Linked DNA regions of Homo sapiens: all the other regions are linked to region 1. Evidence: promoter capture Hi-C in 16 types of primary human blood cells and fetal thymus (Javierre and others, 2016). All regions are on one chromosome and are shown on one strand. The core of a region is centred on a gene start or on the middle of the fragment in contact, and the rest is flanking DNA. Distances in the headings are between cores, read along the strand shown. Region 1 holds the start of SEC24D (SEC24 homolog D, COPII component). Region 2 has its middle 7.3 kb from the start of EXOSC9. Region 3 overlaps EXOSC9 (exosome component 9).

Region 1 (2,923 bases), core at 363-2,862:
GGTGAGGATGTATTTACAATTCAAAAGTAGTGGTTTTATAGGGGTAACAAGTCAAGCAGGTCATCACATGGTGTGACTGTTTCTGACTTTACTCTCTCCTATCTTTGTATCATAGCTTCACTCGCTCCTTGTAATGTAGCTGTTATATGACAAGTTCTTTCACTGCTTTTACAAGCTGTACTGCTTCAACACCGGCCAAAACTTCCTAAACTTCCACTGAACATTTTCATCACATTGAGAATACAAGAAACAATTTAAAACAAAAATTTCAATGTGGGTTTTCAAACCTGATCAGTGTTGAAGCTGGATGTAGGCCAGATATCTTACCTTAAAATCTTTTTTTCTTTTTCTTGAGACAGGGTCTCACTCTGTTGCCCACGCTGGAACGCAGTGGTGTGATCATAGCTCACTGCCTCCTGGCCTCAAGCAATCCTCCCTGCTTGGCCTCCCAAAGTGCTGGGATAACAGGTGTGAGCCACTGTGCCTTGCCCCATGCCTTAAAAACTTTTAAGAGTGGGATAAATGGACCATATATCTTTACTGCTAAAATGACTTAAAATTCCTGCACAATTCATGTAGCATTTCGGGAGTAGCAACATCCCCATGTACGTTTTTACCTAGGCAGTTCATCAGTAAAGGTATTTGTCAAGTGGCTTTCTTGTAGCCGGGAAGAAAGTGCATGTTAAAAACAACAACACCGGGCTGGTTTTTACTTTGTAAGTTTGAGCAAAGTGGTAGCTATACCAAACCTGGGAGTGGCTGAATGTCTTTCTATTTAGCAGTGAAAGATGATAGGAAACCAGCCAGATGGTCCTGATTTTAGGGTGAGATAGAGAGGTAAGCTCCAGATCTCATATAGGTTGCCTTTATTTCTGAGCTGTTTCTCACAGGACGGTGAGCTAAACGCTGGGTGCTTTTCCATGCAGAGATTCCTGTTTGGGGCTGGGATCAGCCATCCTACTTCACAAACAAGGAATATGCGGAAGAAGGAGTATACACAACGCTAACAACCCCAATATCAATGGAAACCCCACTTCCCACACTTTTCCTTTGGGACATCTCCCCCACCCCCCACTCCTCCCGCGTTACACGTTGCCAGGCTGCTTTGGGCGTTCCTTCCTCTGTAGTGCATTGCACGGGTACGTCATCAAATGTGCGTGTACACGTGCCAGATTCGCCTTTAAACGGTAATCTCCCCTAGGTCCAGATCGTGTACTTTCCCGTATGTAACGGTAGTGCAGTACCTGAACTATTAGTTATTTAAGTAATACGTAATGAATGAAGAGCTGAAACTGCAACCTGTTGATGGAAGAATGAATGAACGCGCTCCCCTCCTTCCTGCGGGGCTGCGCCGAGAAAATACGGTTCTGATTTAGCCACGACGTTAAAGGCTTTGACCTGTAGGGGGAGGGGAAAGAAAAGACGGGAAAAAGAAAACCAAAAAACAAAAAACCGGAAAAAGGGAAAAAGCGAAAAGGGGGAGGTCGCTCGGCCGCTCGCAGGCTCAGCCCGGTGGCCCCGCCCCGCGGCGGCCGGTGGCTGTGCGCGTGCGCAGGCGGGAGCGCGGCGGCTGGTCCAAGCCCGGCGCTGGGGGCGCGCAGCCGAGAAAGGGTTTGACGTGGCAGTTCCCAGCCCAGCTGCAACTCCGAGCGTGAGTCCAGGCTAAGGGGACGCCGGCCGGGGAAGAGGCGCGGCGGGAGAAGCGACCGCAGCGGGAGCCCGGCCACCGAGGGCTGCCGGCACTAGGCGCAGAGCCGCCAGCGCTCGGAAGCCCGCGGGGTGCGGGAGCGGGAACAGGTAAAGCCTCCCACCCGCGGACGCCTTCATGCGGGACAGCCCTGCCCAGGCACAGCGGAGCGGGTTGCGGCGCCCGGCCCGGGGACGCGGCGGGAGGCCGGGTGCTCACCTGAGGCAGTGGCGGCGGGAGGAGAACTCATTCTTTGTTCTTTAGCCTTCTAGTGCAGTTTAATAGTGGGGCCGGCGGGATGGGGGAGCAGGAGGTGGGCGTGGGCATTTTTTACCCGCCCCCACCTTTTGCCTTGGGATGCAGGAACTGCCTTGTTAGGATCCTCAGTGGCCACCATTCGAGTGTCATTGCCAGCGGTTTTCTCATCTCCTTATCAACTTAATTTCCTTTTTTGAAGGAAGGAAATGTTAGAAATATTCATGGTAAAAATGGCAACTATATCTTGAAGCCTCGGGACATCCGAATAGTGAAACTGATCTGGCCAAATACGAACTTGTTCCAGGGTTAGAAGTGCACCTTGGCTAGAGTTGCTGGGTGACAGTGAGCCAGGGGGCCGTTCTGGGGTTGGGGCTCCCCAGATTTTGATCCTAGGCCTGCTTATACCAAGTGGCTTTCTGCCGTGTCGCCGCTTGAAGCTGAGTCAGGTTTCTTTAACTTGGTGCTCTGTGTGAGGAAGTTTGACGTGGCAAACTGGGTTGCGTGAGGAAGCTGATTCCTCTGAGGACCAGTTCAGAGGGAACTGGCTGCTTCCTGTTCTTTGGAGTGACCATCTCAGCCTCTCTTTTCTGTCACTCAGCAACAGGCTGCTACTTAGGTGTGTTCGTGCCGACTTCCTAAGTGCTCTTGGTTGGATGAGCTTGACCAGCGCTCAGGCTGCCACGTCTCTCTCTGCTAAGTGGGAGGAGGAAAAAGGGGTTGTCAGAAACAAAGTGGACCAGAAGGCCTTTGCCTGCCTCTCTCCTCTTTTTCAGTTCTCCCCTTCCCAGGAGAAGGAAATGATCTCATAATATTTTTACATGGTTGCTTTTATTTTGGAAACTTATAGTTTAATATGGAAACAAAATCAAATCACAAATTTTAGGCTTCAAATTTTTAATTTGAAATGTTATTTCTTGAATATAGACAGATTCTAAGTCTTAGCAGGTATCACTGATCTCTTATCTTAAATTGTAGCAA
Region 2 (3,167 bases), core at 205-2,704, 3.0 Mb before region 1:
CAGTCTCAAGTAGTGACAGTAGTAAGTCTTGTAATGACAGTCTCAAGTAGTAACAGTAGTAACTGTTGTAGTGACAGTCTCAAATAGTAATGTTTTGTTTTTTGTTTTTTGTTTTTTGTTTTAAGATGGGAGTCTCACTCTGTCACCCAGGCTGGAGTGCAGTGGTGTGATCTCGGCTCACTGCAACCTCCACCTCCTGGCTCAAGCAATTCTCCTGCCTCAGCCTCCCAGGTAGCTGGGACTACAGGCATGTGTCACCAAGCCCAGCTAATTTATTGTATTTTTGGTAGAGATGGGGTTTTGCCATGTTGGCCAGGCTGGTCTCCAACTTCTGACTTCAAATGATCCGCCCACCTCGGCCTCCCAAAGTGTTGGGATTACAGGCATGAGCCACTGTGCCCAGCCCCCTCCAGGTGATTCTTATAAACGTTAAAGTTGGAGAAGCCCTGATCTAAATTTCTAGGAGAGAGATATATATCCAATCTTATCTAGCTCTAGGATTCCCTGTCTGTTTTGTGCAAAATGTGAGGGGAGGTGTCCTCCACTCCCCTGTTCCCATAAGGCAGTGCTAACTGCCTGCTTACAGATTTCCAGAGTTAGGTGGAATTCCTGCTATGTGCTAGGCAGTGTGATTGGTGCCAGCAAAGTTCAATAGGAGGTACTTCCCTACAATGTTTGCTAACTTGCTGTTCACTCACTTTGTGGAAGGAGTGCTTTCAGTGACAATCTAATCTTGAGGCATATTTTAACATCATGATTTTATAAACTCATAGACAATTTTAAGAACAATTTCAGGTTAAGAGAAAAATTGAGCGGAAAGTACACGAAGTCTCCATACACTTTTCCCCCACATACACAACCTCGTCCACCCATCAACAGCCCTCATCAGTGTGGTCCATCTGTTACAGTGAACCAGTATTCGTTATCTGTCTTTTACAGATGCCTATGTTACAAGGTACAGACAGATTGAGTAATCTGTCCAAGTTTGCACAGCTAGTAAGCCACAGAACTAGGATTCATACCCAGACAGCCTGACTCCAGAGACTGTACTCTGTGCTGCTTCTTGTAAATGGGAATTCATTTCTATGGCAAGTGTATTCTCTTCACTCTTAACACCAAACCAGGTTATTGCCTTTCTCTCTGTGAGGATCTTAACTTTCCTCATTTAATTACTTTGCCATCTGATATCCATATAGAGAATAAAGCTGCTATTATTAGATTATCCAAACTCAATTTCTCATGCTTTAACTTGACACACAATTAGAAGTATAATGATGAAGTAGGGCTCATTAATGCAAAGAGACATATGAAGTCTGACTACAATTCCAAAGCTAGCATACAGGCAAGAGTGAGGTTGATATTGAGCTTTTATCACAAGCAATAGGAGGAGTTCTACATGCAAAAGTGGCCCTGGTTCTTGATGGATAGGCTCTTACAGAATACGTTATTTGTACTATGTTGGCCGCTCTCCATTAGCCCAACTCCCAGGGATGCTGTACCCATACCATTGATCAACTCCTTATTCAAATAAATGACTTAAGAGGAAAAGTTTCTATTTTGTATCTCTTCGCTCTTACCCTGCTTGCTTCTTCCTAAAGTTGTCTAACAAGGAAGGCTTAGGCTGTTTCAGAGGCAGCAGCTTCAGCAGAAATGGGAGAACACCAGACGATGCTGACTCTCCCATGAGGTGACCATGGACAGCCTAGGCTGGACTGTGGTATCATGTAGGCACGTTTCTTTTCTTTATCTTTTTTTTTTTAGACATGGGTCTCACTATGTTGCCCAGGTTAGTTTAACTCCTGGCCTCAAGTGATCATCTCAGCTCGGCCTCCTGAGTTACTGGGATTACAGGTGTGAGCTACTGTGCCTGGCTGAAGCGTACATTTCTCTAGCAAGCAATATAATATTATTTTGAGATAGTATTTCAGTGGTAACAGGCCCCTAAGATGGCCCCCAGTGATTCATACCTCCTGATATTTAGGGCCTTATGTGATCCCCTCCCCTTGAATGACTTACTTGTAATCAACAGAATACCTCAACATTAAGGGGATGACACTTCTGTTATTGGATTATAAGAAAATATAACTTCGATCATGCTAGCGGACTCCCTCTCTTGCTGGATTTGATAAAGCAAGTTTCCATGTCAGGGGGCCCACATGACAAGGAACTGAGGGTGTTCTGCAGCCAGTTGCCAGGTAAATATTTGGGACCTAAATCTATATCTCAAAGGGAATTGAAGCCTGACAACAGTCACAGAAGTGAGCTTGTTGAGCTTCCTATGCTGAGCTTTTAGATGAGACTTTAGCCCTCGCTGACATCTTGATTGTAGCTTTAAGAGGGACCCTTAAGCAAACCCTGTTAATGTATGCCTGGGTTCCTGACTCACAGAAACCATGAGATAATAAGTGTATGCTGCTTTAGGCTGCTAAGAAGCAAAAGATGACTAATGCAACTTTGAGCACAAACTCTTCTCAGGTGAGCATTACTTATGAATCTCGTAATTCACTAGACTACTCTCACCTTGATGATAGTATAAATAAAATCCCCATTTGCCTTTTTTTTTTTTCAACATTTGAGGTTATCAAGATGTTGCTAACACCAAGTATGGTGGTGTGCACTTATAATCCCAGCTACTCATGAGGCTGAGGCAAGAGGATTGCTTGAGCCCAGGAGTTCAAGACCAGCTTGGGCAACATGGCAAAACCCTGTCCCCACAAAAAATACAAAAATTGGCCGGGTGTGGTGGCACACACCTATAGTCCCAGTTACTTGGGAGATTGAGGTGGGAGGATCACCTGAGCCTGGGAGGTTGAAGCTGCAGTGAGCCGTGACCATGCCGCTGCATTCCAGCCTGGGTGACGGAGTGAGACCCTTTCTCAAAAAAAAAAAAGTTTGATAATGGGAGTTTCCCTTAATTTTTGTTTCTAGTATTACTAATAAAAATTAGGTTTGTAAGAAGTAAAAATTTATAAGAATTCAGTCATTTATATAAGTATTCTTTGCGAACCTACTATGTGCCAGGCTCTATTTTAAGCACTGGGATAATGTAAACAAAATAGAACAGGTCACTTGGAGCCTATATTATAGAGACAGGTAGACAAAAAAGTAATAAACAAACTATCAGTAGTGCCTGGTAATGAGAGGTGATACAAAGAAAAGTAAAGCCC
Region 3 (3,164 bases), core at 634-3,133, 3.0 Mb before region 1:
AGCGAGCTAAGATTGCACCACTGCACTCTGGCCTGGGCGACAGAGCAAGACTCTTGTCTCAAAAAAAAAAAAAAAAAAGAAAGAAAAACTAAATTTAAAAATGAAAACATGAAACATGTTTTCCTAAGACTTGTATTTCCTAAATTTTCAGCTACTTGGTGAACTCTGGCATTGTTCCCATCTCGAGAAGTCTCATGCCTTTCATTTACTTCCTTTGACTGAACTGGGGAAAATATCTCAAAAGTCCTTTATTGATTTGGGCCTTTTAATTAGCAATTAGCTATCCAGTCTCTACTAGAAATGATGATCAAGTGTCTGGAAATGCAGTTGGTGTGGATTTTGGATTCATTCCATATTCTGCTAATGGGATTTCAGAACTGGGATAAGGAAGCTTGCTTCTCTTTTAGGACTGATTACTTAAAACTTTTTTCATTGTAGAAAGTTTGAAGAAATATACCCCCCAGAAGTAGCAGAGTTTGTGTACATTACAGATGATACCTACACCAAGAAACAAGTTCTGAGAATGGAGCATCTAGTTTTGAAAGTCCTTACTTTTGACTTAGCTGCTCCAACAGTAAATCAGTTTCTTACCCAATACTTTCTGCATCAGCAGCCTGCAAACTGCAAAGTTGAAAGTTTAGCAATGGTGAGTTAACTTTCATTTTGTTGAATGGTGATTCTTTGGTAATAATTAGGGGTAAGCCCTAATTCCTTTGTAAAGGAACCTAGTTCCTTTGTACAGCAGTGGTGAAGAGATTTAGTATTCAGAGGGAGATTAATGCTGCAGTATGGAAGAAAGCCTACTGCTGGCAAAAGATAATCTATATCAGGAAAGCACTAGAAGCAGAGGTCTAAGGATGACATCTTGGGGATGGGTAGTCAGAAGAGTTGTTTTTTAAAAGTTAATAAAGGAGGGAAAATACAGGATGAGGATGGAACAAAACACTAAAATGATTGATATGTTTAAAGATGAGGCTGTGAGATATTTTTTCTAGAGTTGCTACAGAGCCGTTATCAAAGGCAGGAAAAAATTAGGTTAGAAGGCAGAGGTTTGACATTTGAATTCTAAACGCTCTTGTGATCATAAAGTATTTTTTATTCCAGTTTTTGGGAGAATTAAGTTTGATAGATGCTGACCCATACCTCAAGTATTTGCCATCAGTTATTGCTGGAGCTGCCTTTCATTTAGCACTCTACACAGTCACGGGACAAAGCTGGGTATGTATTACGGTCTTCACACACCTATCTTGTGACTGAAATGCCTGTGCCAGATTAAATAATAATTGTCCTACAAAACTGAGGGTTGCCTAGATGTTCTTACTTGGAAAAACTTCAAATATATATAGTTGACCTTTGAAAAACACAGGTTTGAACTGTGTGAGTCCACTTACACATGGATTTTTTTCCAATCAAATGTGGACTGAAACTACAGTATTCAGGGGATTCACAACCCATATATATGGAAGGGTGACTGCAGGACTTGAATATGTACAGATTTGGGTATATTTGGGAAGGGTCCTGGAACCAATCCCTCATGTACACTGAGGGATGATTATATACTGTTTAAGGCATGTTACCTGTTGAACAGTGTTTGTTAGGTAGTAAGCTTAGTTGTAACTTGGATTGAAAGGTGAGCTTTTTTAAAAGCATCTGACCTGTTGCTGGCAGGGAAAGTAGTAGAAAATGGATCGAGGGATGGAATAATGGCCTGAGAAAACTAGTAGTTGGAAAAGTTAAAGATTAGTACTGGAATTTAACATAAGCTTAATGCCAACTATTTACTGTGTTTGGTGTGTTACTAAAAGCAAAACTCAGGGGTTCTCTATTCCCTTCTCTGTAGCCTGAATCATTAATACGAAAGACTGGATATACCCTGGAAAGTCTTAAGCCTTGTCTCATGGACCTTCACCAGACCTACCTCAAAGCACCACAGCATGCACAACAGTCAATAAGAGAAAAGTACAAAAATTCAAAGTAAGAATTAACTTGGATATTGAAGCTTACTTTTCTAGATTATGGTTCAGAGATCTTTGACATTTTAACCTTATTCATGAATCTGCCATAGCCTCCTTGAGAAGCTGTTCTCTAAATTGGTTATGTGTTTGAAGAAGGTTGTAGTTCATGCTTTCTGCCCTGGGTCTGGGGGAGAAGAGAGAAGGAAGGGGGCATGCATGTGTGTTTCAGGGACCAGACAGTGTTTCTAAAACCATCAAGTCGGTCAGACAGAAATAGCATTTTTTAGTTCCCAATACATGAGTACAAACATTATTCCATGATCTCCTTTACCCAGTGAGTGTTTACTAAAAATGCTTTTTTTTTCCCTACTTACAGGTATCATGGTGTTTCTCTCCTCAACCCACCAGAGACACTAAATCTGTAACAATGAAAGACTGCCTTTGTTTTCTAAGATGTAAATCACTCAAAGTATATGGTGTACAGTTTTTAACTTAGGTTTTAATTTTACAATCATTTCTGAATACAGAAGTTGTGGCCAAGTACAAATTATGGTATCTATTACTTTTTAAATGGTTTTAATTTGTATATCTTTTGTATATGTATCTGTCTTAGATATTTGGCTAATTTTAAGTGGTTTTGTTAAAGTATTAATGATGCCAGCTGTCAGGATAATAAATTGATTTGGAAAACTTTGCAAGTCAAATTTAACTTCTTCAGGATTTTGCTTAGTAAAGAAGTTTACTTGGTTTACTATATAATGGGAAGTGAAAAGCCTTCCTCTAAAATTAAAGTAGGTTTAGGAAAACAGACCCTCAAATTCTGACATTCATTTTCCTAAGCAACTGGATCAATTTGCTGACTTGGGCATAATCTAATCTAAGCATATCTGAATACAGTATTCAGAGATAGATACAGTAGAGATTCCCCAGACTTTTTCGCTCTTTGTAAAACCTGTTTGTTTAGGTTTTGCGAGGTAAACTCAACAGAGGTTGGGAGTGGAAGAGGGTGGGAAGCTTATATGCAAATTAACAGACGAGAAATGCTCCAGAAGGTTTATTATTTTAAAGCACATTAAAAACAAAAAACTATTTTTAAAATCCTGCTAGATTTTATAATGGATTTGTGAATAAAAAATACCCAGGGTTCTCAGAATGGAATAAATATCCCTTTTAATAGTTATATATACAGATATACAACTGTTAGCTTTA

Evidence for each region. The method cuts DNA at HindIII sites, captures the fragments that hold promoters and counts their contacts. A CHiCAGO score of 5 or more calls a contact.
Region 2: a contact is called between a fragment that was not itself captured here and the fragment with the promoter of SEC24D in region 1, in 1 of 17 cell types (total CD4 T cells). The highest score is 5.7, in total CD4 T cells.
Region 3: a fragment that was not itself captured here is called in contact with the fragment with the promoter of SEC24D in region 1 in 1 of 17 cell types (activated CD4 T cells); the score reaches 6.5 in activated CD4 T cells.

What each region holds. Positions count from the first base shown.
Region 1 is chr4:118,834,815-118,837,737 of GRCh38, reverse strand. SEC24D (SEC24 homolog D, COPII component) reads left to right here and starts at 1,612. Exons shown (of 23, transcript NM_014822.4): 1 at 1,612-1,797. RefSeq lists enhancers at 1,450-1,744, 1,365-2,256 and a silencer at 1,449-1,938. The HindIII fragment of the contact is 6,235 bases long and covers 1-2,923 here.
Region 2 is chr4:121,792,438-121,795,604 of GRCh38, reverse strand. No RefSeq gene overlaps it. Among named protein-coding and RNA genes, the nearest start is that of EXOSC9, 7.3 kb to the left of the region's middle. RefSeq lists an enhancer at 817-1,111 and a silencer at 817-1,111. The HindIII fragment of the contact is 7,280 bases long and covers 1-3,167 here.
Region 3 is chr4:121,816,854-121,820,017 of GRCh38, reverse strand. EXOSC9 (exosome component 9) reads right to left here. Exons shown (of 12, transcript NM_005033.3): 12 at 2,997-3,164. The coding sequence ends at 3,162. CCNA2 (cyclin A2) reads left to right here. Exons shown (of 8, transcript NM_001237.5): 5 at 439-646; 6 at 1,105-1,218; 7 at 1,841-1,974; 8 at 2,332-3,164. The coding sequence ends at 2,380. Among named protein-coding and RNA genes, the nearest start is that of CCNA2, 5.4 kb to the left of the region's middle. The HindIII fragment of the contact is 236 bases long and covers 1,766-2,001 here.